2 separate regions of the Homo sapiens genome follow, and region 1 is linked to region 2. The links are contacts of gene promoters, found by promoter capture Hi-C in blood cells and fetal thymus (Javierre and others, 2016). All regions are on one chromosome and are shown on one strand. The core of a region is centred on a gene start or on the middle of the fragment in contact, and the rest is flanking DNA. Distances in the headings are between cores, read along the strand shown. Region 1 has its middle 17 kb from the start of RTP4. Region 2 holds the start of SST (somatostatin).

The links. Contacts are between HindIII fragments. The CHiCAGO score rates a contact against its expected background, and 5 or more counts as called.
Region 1: a fragment that was not itself captured here is called in contact with the fragment with the promoter of SST in region 2 in 5 of 17 cell types (M1 macrophages, naive B cells, naive CD4 T cells and 2 more); the score reaches 6.0 in M1 macrophages.

What each region holds. Positions count from the first base shown.
Region 1 is chr3:187,348,480-187,354,538 of GRCh38, reverse strand. No RefSeq gene overlaps it. Among named protein-coding and RNA genes, the nearest start is that of RTP4, 17 kb to the left of the region's middle. The HindIII fragment of the contact is 3,173 bases long and covers 244-3,416 here.
Region 2 is chr3:187,668,951-187,675,595 of GRCh38, reverse strand. SST (somatostatin) reads left to right here and starts at 5,202. Exons shown (of 2, transcript NM_001048.4): 1 at 5,202-5,442; 2 at 6,319-6,645. The coding sequence starts at 5,305. The coding sequence ends at 6,531. The HindIII fragment of the contact is 4,322 bases long and covers 2,418-6,645 here.

The DNA of each region.
Region 1 (6,059 bases), core at 581-3,080, 320 kb after region 2:
ACGGGGTAGCTGCCATTTTTATTATCCCTGTCGAAATACTTTGTGCACACAGCTGATAAGTGGAAGAGCCAGGATTCCAAACCAGATAGTTTAACTCTAGAACCTTGCTTTACTGCCTCTCTCATTGCTGGGCCTTCCCACATGAGCTCTCCTTGTCTGGAGGCTCCTTCAGCATCTCTTTACCTGGCCCATGCCGACCTGCCCTTGAAGTATTACTCAGTATTCTCCTCTAATAAATAAGCTTTTTCTGCTTCCCCAGGCCTAGATTTGGTGCCTGCTCTATGTGCTTCCGTAGCACCCAGGGCATCTTGTATAACAATTTCACACTACAAACCTATTGACTTGACTGATCTCTTCTATGACTTAAACTCTTTAAGAGCAGGAACATTTCTTTGGCTGGTACACATTGCACTCTCACGCTCAGTAATGAAACACAGTTGACCCTTGAACAGCACAGGTTTGAAGTGAGTGGGTCCACTTATACATGGGTTTTCTTCACCTCTGCCACCCCTGAGACAAGACAGCAAGACCAACTTCTCCCCCTCAGTCCACGCAATGTGAAGATGACAAGGATGCAGACCTTTATGATCATCCACTTTTACTTAACGAATAGTAAATCTATTTTCTCTTCCTTATGATTTTCTCAGAAACATTTTGTTTTATCTAGCTTACTTTATTGTAAAAATATAATAAATAATATATATAATACAAAATACATGTTAGTAGGCTGGTTATGTTATCAGTAAGGCCTCCAGTCAACAATGTGCTATTAGGAGTTAAGTTTTGGGGGAGTCAGAAGTCGTACACAGATGTTTAACTGTGTGGTGGGGGCGGGTTGGTGCCCCTAACCCCCACATTGTTCAAGGGTCAACTGTACCTGGCAAGTAGTACATGCTAAAAAAAATTGCTTACATATATAAGTAAATCTAAATATTCCTATTTTAATATTAAAGTATAATGTCATTCTATAAATGCCCATTAGCCTCCCTGCTCCCCACTCATTGAGTTTGACTTAACAGAGTATCAAAGTAAAATAAAAATAACGGGTAAGAGGTTTTCCCAACTTTGCTCTCAAAACTGAATCACACTATTTAAACAAACTACATGATTAATATAGTAGATTCACAAAAGTAAATAAATCTATCCCTGTGTATCTCTACCACTTGCGCACTTGGCTAATTCTGAGAACACACTTAGAAGAGGCATTAAAAACCTGAATATATTACGGATGACTATCCCTTAGCCATTTAACCCTTTCACCTGGGTAGCAGCTGTGTGGCGGAGCAGGAAATAGTGAATTAACGCCACCTCAGCCCTGGAGGCAGCGGCAATGCCAATATGAGTATAAGCCAATTAGTGAGACCTCATGCTTCTTCAATAACAAGGAGTTCAGGTATTGCAGTCTGACCCAGTCAGTCCCATCTCCTACTGGGTCATGTGCTGTGCAGACGTGAACTGTGGGAACTGCTGCAAATTTTTTGTCTCCTTAAGGGAGGTCTGGCTTGGGGTGAAGACATCTGGAAAGCAGAGAACAAAGACTAAAAGAAACTTGGTCCTTGACAACCTCATTAGGCTATGAGGAAAAAGTCCTGTAGCGTTCAGCTTATCTCAGTGAACTGAGTGCTCATTCCCTTTATTGCCTAGACTTGTTTGGATTAGGTTTCCTGGTCCATGCACCGTGAAGGGAGTGCCAGCACACTGGAGCACGCCCGAGGACATATGAGCCGGGTGGCATGGAACTCTGAGGGTCAGCAAATGAGGCCACTGCCCCAGCTAGCTCTCAGATCACATGAAACATGGGAAAGGAAAGAAGCCTGAGCAGAGAATTCCAAGACCCTGACCATCATTTTCTCGAGCCTTCTGCCTACCCTTGTCAGGCTTCAGGAATGCAGACAGGCAAAGAAGAACTGCTGTATATCCAAACCTATTCAGCCCCTCCTTGTCTAGACCTAAAAATTTAAAAGGTCCACAAATAGTTCTTGAGCGATTCAGGCTCAACATCCAATACTGGGAAGGACAGGCTTCTGAAATCAGAGAACTTCATATTAAATAAAATTACTAGGGAATAGAGAGAACATTTCATTTGGATTCTGAGAATCTTAAATAAATATTTCTTTTAAAATGACATCATGCAGTTTTAAAGACTGCAAACAAAGAATATCACCAACAAAATTCAAACGGCAAAGGGGCACTAAATATCATGGAAAACCAAAGCAGGAGGGCAAAAGTTCAAAAACGTCTCCCAAAATCAAAGAAAAGAGAGAAGGTGGTGAACCATTGAAAAACAAAGATGTAAAGAACAAATGCAGAAGATCCCATTTAGGTATACAAAAAATATGGTAGGAGAAAAGTGCAAATTGAGGAGAAACAATTAAAGAAGAAAAAAAATGTTTCTGAGTCAAAAAAGACATGTTCGGGTTTGAAAGGACTTCATAAGAAGCAATCAAAATTAATCAATAGAGTTTTCTACATACACATACTCTGGTAAGTTTTAAGTTTTTTTAGATTGGTTGGGTGAGGTGTCTTACATGTATCCAGGCAGGGATGGGAGGAAATGGCTTACCTACAAAGCAACAAAAATTAGGTTGGCTTCAGGTCCTTTCTCATTAATATTAAATTCCAGCAAATATGATGCAACTTTTGCAGAGTTTAAAGGAAAAATATTCGAGTCTGAAAAATCTATCAAGTTATTTTCACTTGCAAAATGGAAAGAAAAAAAGGATCCTTAACAAGTAGAAACTCAATATATATATCTGCGCTTCCCAGAAACCTTATTAAAATTGTGCTCTAAAAGATAATTAAAATAAATACTCTAGGATGGGAATGTCTTTAGTGCTGCCATATTTAACATACATTTTGCTTTTAGTATCTAACTTTTTTTAACCATATTTAAACTTTCTTACTATTCTGCATACAATGTTAAATCCTAATATGTAACCTCCACAAAGCAGGGAGTTTGGCTTGTTTTTGTTCACTTCCACACCAAAACCAGAAAACCATACAGAATTGGTCCTTAAGAAATGTATGTTGAAGGAATGAATGAACTAACCAGAAATGAGTGCTAAATCAAGTATAATGCCTTTCCCCACATGATTTTTCTTTTTAAATAATTAATATTCTCATTTATATTCATAGACTTCCTAGTACTGAGCCATAACCTAGGAGTGAGCACATAACTCACTCCTGGCCAATTAGAGCACCAGATTTTCTGGCCACAGTGAATGGTTTAGTGATGGCATGGGAACTAAGCCGGACCAGTGAGATGCCACTATGGGGACTTGTGCTGGAGTTGCCAACAGAGAGATGCTCTCCTTCTGCTGGAGTACCAAGCTAATAGAATGTCAGCTTGTACCTAGACAGCTTGCCACAGCCAGGTGAAAATGTGCTTGAGAATGAAACCAGTACAAAGGGAAGCTTTAAGTACTTGTTTCCAGCATGCCGAAGAACATTCTGCCATATCTTTTGGTAATATGAACAAATCAGCTCCCTTTTTTTCTTAAGTCACTTTGACATGATTTCATTTACCACTTATAAATTAGAATTTTCTATATGTTTATGTTTTGTGCTCTCATCAAGTTTTAGCATCAGACATATCAATGCTAGCCCCATAAAAAGATGTAGGCAGATTTTCATATTGTTTGCATTCTTGGAACATGTTGGAAAGCAAATAACGCATACCTCCTTCCACCTTTATTTACAACACATTGAAAGATAGACACTGACCTGGGGGAAATTAAAATACCATACACCCTTTATTACCTGCAAAGATGGCCTGAAGGACATGAGCTCTGCGGACAAAGTGGGATCCTCCTAACAGAACTTTCCAGGCAACTGGAAGGTTCTGGAGAACCACAGCCTCTCCCACTGCCACCCCTACACCCACATACACAGGGTGGGGAGGGGTGGAGAGCCTTGTCTGGAGTCAGTTTTGGTTTTCTAATTTTCCTAAAGAATTCTGTATTTTGTTTAGATTTTCATCTAGTTATACTTTCCTCATTTCTAATGCTTTATATTTTTATTTTCTCCCTTCATTCAAGGCCCAAATTCCAAAGGACTTGCCTTTTTTTTTTTTTTTTTTTTTTTTTTTTGAGACAGAGTCTTGCTGTGTCAGCCGGGCTAGAGTGCAGTGGCATGATCTCAGTTCACTGCAACCTCCGTCTCCCAGGCTCAAGCAATTCTCCTGCCTCAGCCTCCCGAGTAGCTGGGATTACAGGTGTGTGCCACCACGCCCTGCTAATTTTTGTTTTTTTAGTAGAGACAGAGTTTCACCATGTTGGCCAGGCTGGTCTTGAACTCCTGATCTCAGGTAATCTGCCCGCCTCGGCCTCCCAAAGTGCTGGGATTACAGACGTGAGCCACTGCACCAGGCTGGACCTGCGTATTTTATTTATCTTTTTGAAGAATCGCCCCTTTTATCCATTAATTGTATTTTTTCATTTTTAGCATTCAGAGTCATTAATTTATGCTTTTATTTAATTAATTGTATAATTTTATATATGCATCTATATGGCTTATTTTGTTAACTTTTCTGTATTGAATTGAAGGCCTGGTTGTTATTTTGGGCCTTTTGAATTTAAATGTATGAATAGTGCTTATGCTTAGTACCAGCCCATACTTTTGCTGTATACTGTTCTTATTTTTGTTGATTTTTATATCTCAGAATATAGTTTTGATTTGATTTACAATTTTTTAAAGAAATTTGAGATTTTACTTGTTTAGTTTTTGTTTTTTTCAGTAGGTCTCAGTTTTGATCTAGCATTTATGTGGATCTAGCTTGATTGTGTGATAGTCCTAGAATGCAGTACACATTTTTTTTCCTGCTTCTATGGGCATATAATATACATTCTTTATAAGGTACCATATGCTAGATTATCTAGTAAATTCATCCTATTAATTATGTGACTAAACTCATTAATATTCTATTTTTGGTCTATTTGGTCAATTAAATTTAAAGACAAGGTGTTTAAAAACTCTTTTTTGTACAGAAAAATTGGAATGAATAAAAATTATTTAATTCTAGTGAGTCAAATTTTATTCTTATATCTAAGAACTGTGCTTTCTATATCTAGCAATACATTGTTTAAAGTGCATATAAGTTTATGACAAATATGGTCTTGATGTTTTAAATCAAATAGAAAATATTATCTTTTTCCATTTTTACTCCTGGCCTCAAAATTTATTTTTGAAATGTTTTTACATGTGTGTTTATTCATTTATGTTTGTTTTTGTTGTTGTTGTTTCTAGACGGAGTCTCGCTCTGTCACCAGGCTGCAGTGCAGTGGCGTGATCTCAGCTCGCTGCAACCTCCGCCTCCCAGGTTCAAATGATCCTCCTGCCTCAGCCTCCCAAGTAGCTGGGACTGCAGGCACGTGCCACCATGCCCAGCTAATTTTTGTTATTTTTAGTAGAAATGGTGTTTCACCATGTTGGCCAGGATGGCGATCTCTTGACCTCGTGAACCGCCCACCTTGGCCTCCCAAAGTGCTAGGATTACAGGCATGAGCCTCCACGCCCAGCCTATTTATTTTATTATATGCTTTTATGAGGCAAAATGTGATTTTTTTATATACGTGTACATTGTGGAGTGATTAAATCAAGCTAATGAACATATCCATCATGTGACATGCTTATTTTTTATGGTGAGAACTTCACAATTTTCAAGTATACAGTACATTATTATTAAATATAGTCACTAGGCTGTACAACTGATCTCCAGAATTGACACCTTCCATCTAATTGAAACTTGGCACCCTTTGACCAACATCTCCCCTTCACCACCCCACTCCTGCTGCCCCAGCCTCTAGTAATCGCCATTCTATTCTCTGCTTCTATGGGTTCAACTTTTTTTAGATTCCACACACAATTGGGAAATAGTCTCTTCAATAAACAGTGTTGGGAAAACTGAATATCCACATGCAGAAAAATGAATTTGGACCCTTATTTTATCCTATATATAAAAGTCAACTGAAAATGGAGTAAGGACTTAAATATCAGCCCTAAAACTATAAAACTTCTAGAAAAAAAGTAGGATAAAAGCTGCTTGTCATCGGCTTCAGCAA
Region 2 (6,645 bases), core at 3,953-6,452:
AGAATCTATATGCTCATAGCCTCCCGCCATCCCCAACGGCTCATCTCGTGCAATCTGCCCTCTGCTGCATGGTTTCTTGCTCCAAATTGATCTCCTTCTCCCAGCTTACTTAAATCAAACCTTCCACTAGCCAGCTATAAATCTAGAAGACAATTCAACAAATGAATCCATATTAAAATGTTAATAGTTACTAAGTTTTAATGTGTTATATCTCCAAGGTAAGTATATGTAAGGAAGAAGAGACTATTTTCTAATGGAGGGATTTCCCCACCCATCTGCTGCATTTCTGTGAGATCTTCCTAGACCTTTAAATCACACCCTATACATTCCCAGTGAGAAAGGCCTGCATGCTTCTTGGGTCAGAGCCTCAGCAGGGTCTCCAGCTCCCAAAGTGATTGACTGGTTCATTGGAATCACCTTCGGCTTAGGACTGGTTGCCTCCATCTGAGCAGCAATAATAAAACCTGTGACATTTTACGGACTGCTAAGCATTTTCACTTACATTGTCTTACTTGGTTCTCAAATCTTGTTTCAGAAAAACAGAGGAGAATCAGGTCCATTTTAAGCAGATACAAACTGAGTACTTAAGCCCGGGGCCTCAGACTCCCAGTCCATGGCTGTTTTTGCTGTTCCATGTTGTTCTCCCCACTGACATTTTTCCTCACTTTCTTCTGTCTGGAAAATCAATGGTTTTCTATTTGCAAAATGTCCAGGAGAAGTTTTTAGCATAAACCCACTTCCTGACCTCTCTAGAATTTGTCAAACTTGAAGGCATTTGAGAGAGCATCTGGATGACTCTCTAGGCATTGTTGATGGTTCTTCTCATTTCCTTAACTCGATATCCAAATAAACCATCATTGTATCCTGCTTACTATACTTCAAAATGAACTTTAAGTCTAACCAGTCCTCACCTTCTTCATGGCTACCACCTTAGCCCCAAACATCATCTTATGTCACCAGAACTAGGTCTAGAGCACAAGATCCCCAGTAAAAAAACACAAAACACCTCCCTGCTCCCAGCCTTTGGAACTTGGGAATTGAGATGGGCCCTGAGGGTTGGGAGCAAAGGGCTTGTATTGGGAAGTTTCAAAGTCCCTTTATGCAAATCCACACAGTTGGCCATGAGACATTTCAAAGAAAATCTGTGTTCCTTTTGCCCTGGCTCCTCTTCTCTCTTAAACACTTCTTAGACTCTTAGCTTATCTCCTTTCTTGAACTCTTGCCCTCCTACAATTAATTCCCCACTAAGCAGAGGGCTTTTTTTAAAAGAATTTTTTAAAAGAACCAAATCAGGTCAGTTTTCTTGCTCAAAAATGGTTTCCCTGCCACAGCCTTCAAGGCTTCCTGTGATCTGCTCCTGGTCTGCCTTGCTGACCTCATCTCCTAACCCTCTCTACTTTAACCACTCTGTTCAAGTCCTTGCCTTGTTGCTGCTCTTTGCATCTACCAAGCATACTTCTGCCTCAGGTCTTTGCATTGATCGTCCTTCCACCTGAGTTGGAGATATCTTTATTCAGATATTTGCATGGCTAGCTCCCTTGCCTCAGAGAGCTCTGTTCAAAGAGCTCCTCCTCAGAAGTATCTTCCGCCTACCATTATGCTCTATACTTTGCTTTAACCCTAATACATGTTGATTAACATGTTTATTCTTTGTCTTTCTCATGAGGACTCTGTCTATCCAGTTCACTGCTATATCATTGGCATCTGTCTAGCAAATTTTCTCTGGAATTAGCTGTAGAAAGAGGTTGAGTGAATCAATTTTAAGGATGGAGAAATTGAGGTCCAGAGTGAGAAAGGCAGGTCAGCAGCAGAAGCAAGAGTCAAGAATACATCTTCTAGTAGGCCTGGGAAATGTCCTCTGCACTCAGCCTCCTTTCTGATATTACGTAAAAACCAGGTTCTTTTCCAATATAAAATTCTCATCTTGAGAGAATAATAACATCTTAACATAATAGTATATTCTACTTTGCCTTTTTATTTCCTCAAATTTATACTCATTAATTATCAGAGCTGGAGGGAACCACAAAGATGACCTGCCAAGTTTTATTTTGCAAATAAAGAACCAAGGCCCAGAGAAGATGTCCCACAGTTGGTTGTGGCAGAATCAGGCTAGAGCCCAGGTCTCTTGACTCCCAGTACAGACACTTTCTCCTTCCTTGCATTGCTTAACATTGAATGTCTATGTCTATTCACAGATTATGTTGCTTTTTATTAAAATAAGTTTCTACTCCTTATATTGGCAGGTAGTCACTCCAAAATGTACGTTCCACAAGGGAGGTGGGAAATCATATCCTGTCCAGAAAAAGCTGCACATGAAAGAGGTGAGGCCTGGATGCCTTCTAGAGGTGCATGTATCCCGGCTGCAGACTGCTCGGCCAGGAATCTCTGGCATCTCTGAGTCAGGGAATCATGAAGCTTTCTCAAGTGAAGTAACATTCTCCCTGTGACCATGCCACTTCCTGCCTGTGTGCCCTCTTGTAAGGCACTGAAGGTCTCAGGACCTCAGTTTCCTCCTCTGTGAGGTGGGAATAGCATGCCCTGAAGTGTTGGATGAGAAAGTGTTTTGTGAGCAACAGAGGACTGGGTAAGGATTCCTAGTGAGTTTGGTTGGTCTGGGCAATAGCGTCCCCAATACAACCACAAAACACTTTACCCTTCCAGCTTTGAGACTTGGGAGAGATGCCCTGGGGGTTGATTACAGAAGGCTCAGGTTGGGAAAGTTTGAAGTGCTTCATGCTAAACCAACCTTTAAGCTATAACTGGCCATGGAGGGCTTAAGGGAGAATTTATGTCCCTTTTTGTCCTGGCTTCTCTGATAAGTGGTTCTCAGACTCATAACTCTCCAGGAGTTATAAAACAACAAAAGCAAAACCCTTAAGTCATCTCATTTACAGCTTCAGCTCTTCAGCAGGGTATGAGGGAAGCAACTGTTTACTATTCATAAGTAGATACTTAAACAGATAGACATCATGAGGTTTTTTGTTTGTTTGTTTTTGGTGAGAAGCAGTTGAGGAGGGAAGAAGAAAGAAAAGAGGAGAGAAAAGAGAGGGAGAGATGTCTTGAGGCAGAGACTGGGATAGGCACTGGCTAAGCAGGGTGAGAAGGCAGGGAAAGAGCCGGGCTGACCCAAACCAAAGTCAGAAAATGATTGAGAAGAGCAAGAAAAACAAAGGAATGAGGATACAGAGTCAAGAGAGGAGACAAAAGAAGGATTGAGTGAGGAAAATTCTGAAACATAAATTTGCAGAAAGGTTAAGGAAAAGGAGGAATAAGAAGGAGGAGAAAGTGTAGAGGGAGAGCACAAGGATGTGGAAGGAGGGGAGCAAGCGTCTGGGGAAGGAGACAGAAGAGATCCTAGAGCACAGGGGAAGATGGGGAGCTGCTATTTGTTCTTCGGCTGGCTCCTGCTTTGGAAAAATCCTCGTTTCCTACTCAGTGGGTATGCCAAAGACCACATCCTGGGTACAGGAGATATGAGATCATTTGGAGGTACCTAGAGACAGTCACAGTGATAGAACTAAACTCTGAGTCCTTAGAGGCCAGAGAGAGTTGCAAGATTTAGAGAATATAACATGTATTTCCTAGGACTGGGTTCCACAGCTCCAGATTCATTGATCTCTTAGACTACTCCAACACATGTGAATGACTTTTTAATGCCCCACTTTGTGCTTAGTCTTGGCTGGCCTTGTCAAGACCTGGAAACTTTAACACTTCTTGCTGTGCATTTCCGCTTTGCCTTGGATTACAAGCACAAAAAGAAATAGTGACAATTATTCAAGCCATTCAGGATACTTCCCAAACCCTTCTGCCTCTCAACACTGTGGTTCGGGTCTAAGTACTGAGAATATTTTAATACCTAATATGAGCTTCGCATGGTTTCCAGAGATGCAGCATATCTTTTTAGCTAATATTGGCTTTTTTGAAGCTCATAAGATAACAGCTCTTAAAGATCCTGTAGGGATCATCTCGTCCATGCTAGGAAATTAGCTGGTCCTTCCTCAGTAAGGAACTATTTAGATAAAAGCAGTCAGAACTCTGGCCTGAACAGTAAACATTTAACCAGAGTTCAATCAGAATTCAAGGACAGGTTTTCTTAAACTTTCTTTGTTTCTAGGAGATCAGGCAGAGCTGAATTTAACCAAGAATCTTTTGATCCTTTCCACATATAGATATACAATAGTGGTCACATATGTTCTGGGAGTTCCTAGACCTTATATGTCTAAACTGGGGCTTCCTGACATAAAACTATGCTTACCGGCCAGGAATCTGTTAGAAAACTCAGAGCTCAGTAGAAGGAACACTGGCTTTGGAATGTGGAGGTCTGGTTTTGCTCAAAGTGTGCAGTATGTGAAGGAGAACAATTTACTGACCATTACTCTGCCTTACTGATTCAAATTCTGAGGTTTATTGAATAATTTCTTAGATTGCCTTCCAGCTCTAAATTTCTCAGCACCAAAATGAAGTCCATTTCAATCTCTCTCTCTCTCTTTCCCTCCCGTACATATACACACACTCATACATATATATGGTCACAATAGAAAGGCAGGTAGATCAGAAGTCTCAGTTGCTGAGAAAGAGGGAGGGAGGGTGAGCCAGAGGTACCTTCTCCCCCATTGTAGAGAAAAGTGAAGTTCTTTTAGAGCCCCGTTACATCTTCAAGGCTTTTTATGAGATAATGGAGGAAATAAAGAGGGCTCAGTCCTTCTACTGTCCATATTTCATTCTCAAATCTGTTATTAGAGGAATGATTCTGATCTCCACCTACCATACACATGCCCTGTTGCTTGTTGGGCCTTCCTAAAATGTTAGAGTATGATGACAGATGGAGTTGTCTGGGTACATTTGTGTGCATTTAAGGGTGATAGTGTATTTGCTCTTTAAGAGCTGAGTGTTTGAGCCTCTGTTTGTGTGTAATTGAGTGTGCATGTGTGGGAGTGAAATTGTGGAATGTGTATGCTCATAGCACTGAGTGAAAATAAAAGATTGTATAAATCGTGGGGCATGTGGAATTGTGTGTGCCTGTGCGTGTGCAGTATTTTTTTTTTTTTAAGTAAGCCACTTTAGATCTTGTCACCTCCCCTGTCTTCTGTGATTGATTTTGCGAGGCTAATGGTGCGTAAAAGGGCTGGTGAGATCTGGGGGCGCCTCCTAGCCTGACGTCAGAGAGAGAGTTTAAAACAGAGGGAGACGGTTGAGAGCACACAAGCCGCTTTAGGAGCGAGGTTCGGAGCCATCGCTGCTGCCTGCTGATCCGCGCCTAGAGTTTGACCAGCCACTCTCCAGCTCGGCTTTCGCGGCGCCGAGATGCTGTCCTGCCGCCTCCAGTGCGCGCTGGCTGCGCTGTCCATCGTCCTGGCCCTGGGCTGTGTCACCGGCGCTCCCTCGGACCCCAGACTCCGTCAGTTTCTGCAGAAGTCCCTGGCTGCTGCCGCGGGGAAGCAGGTAAGGAGACTCCCTCGACGTCTCCCGGATTCTCCAGCCCTCCCTAAGCCTTGCTCCTGCCCCATTGGTTTGGACGTAAGGGATGCTCAGTCCTTCTAAAGAGTTTTGGTGCTTTTCTGGGTCCCTCAGCTCCCGAAGCTCTTGAGAAAACTATCAAAGGCTAGAATCCCCTTCTAACTCTTTTTTTCCCCCATGATAAGCGCAGTCGGTCACAGTTCAGGTGAGTTCTTACTTGGCATTCAAGAAAATTACAAAATCTGGGTAGTTGTCTGGGCACGAAGCGACAATGGCGTCTATCCCTGGTGCTGACCCTGGGAAGCGCTGACCCAGGTGCTGAAACGCAGACCTCTGAAGCTGCTACCTCTTAGCGTACCTCACTTCCAAACGTCGGGACTAGGGCAAAGGGGCAATCTAAAGACCGAACGCCGTATGTTTGAGATTGTGAGAAGTCTCGTTCCCCTACAGTTTACTTGGTAAAAATGGTAAAACAATTCTACTTTGTAGCTCGTGATGTGAAAATTGAATTAAACTGTTGGCACACACTTTATCTTACCAGAACGGTCTTTATGTGTGTGTGTGTGTGTGTGTGTGTGTTTGTGCGTGTGTGTGTGTGTGTGTGTGTGTTAAGTCTACAGGGACAGAAAGGTTGCAGAAACATTTGAGCTCTTAAAGCCTTTTTGTGTAACTTGGTAATTATAGCAACTATCCTTATTTTTATATCCTTGATTGATTTTAAATGTGACAAAAAATGCGCAGCTGTAAAAACTGGATTTTGTGTGTGACCAAATCTGTTCTTTAATTTAGGCTTTTCAAATTTTTTCCATTGTCCTCCCCACTTCTCTTTCTCTCTTTTTCTATCCCTTCTGCCCTATACAGGAACTGGCCAAGTACTTCTTGGCAGAGCTGCTGTCTGAACCCAACCAGACGGAGAATGATGCCCTGGAACCTGAAGATCTGTCCCAGGCTGCTGAGCAGGATGAAATGAGGCTTGAGCTGCAGAGATCTGCTAACTCAAACCCGGCTATGGCACCCCGAGAACGCAAAGCTGGCTGCAAGAATTTCTTCTGGAAGACTTTCACATCCTGTTAGCTTTCTTAACTAGTATTGTCCATATCAGACCTCTGATCCCTCGCCCCCACACCCCATCTCTCTTCCCTAATCCTCCAAGTCTTCAGCGAGACCCTTGCATTAGAAACTGAAAAC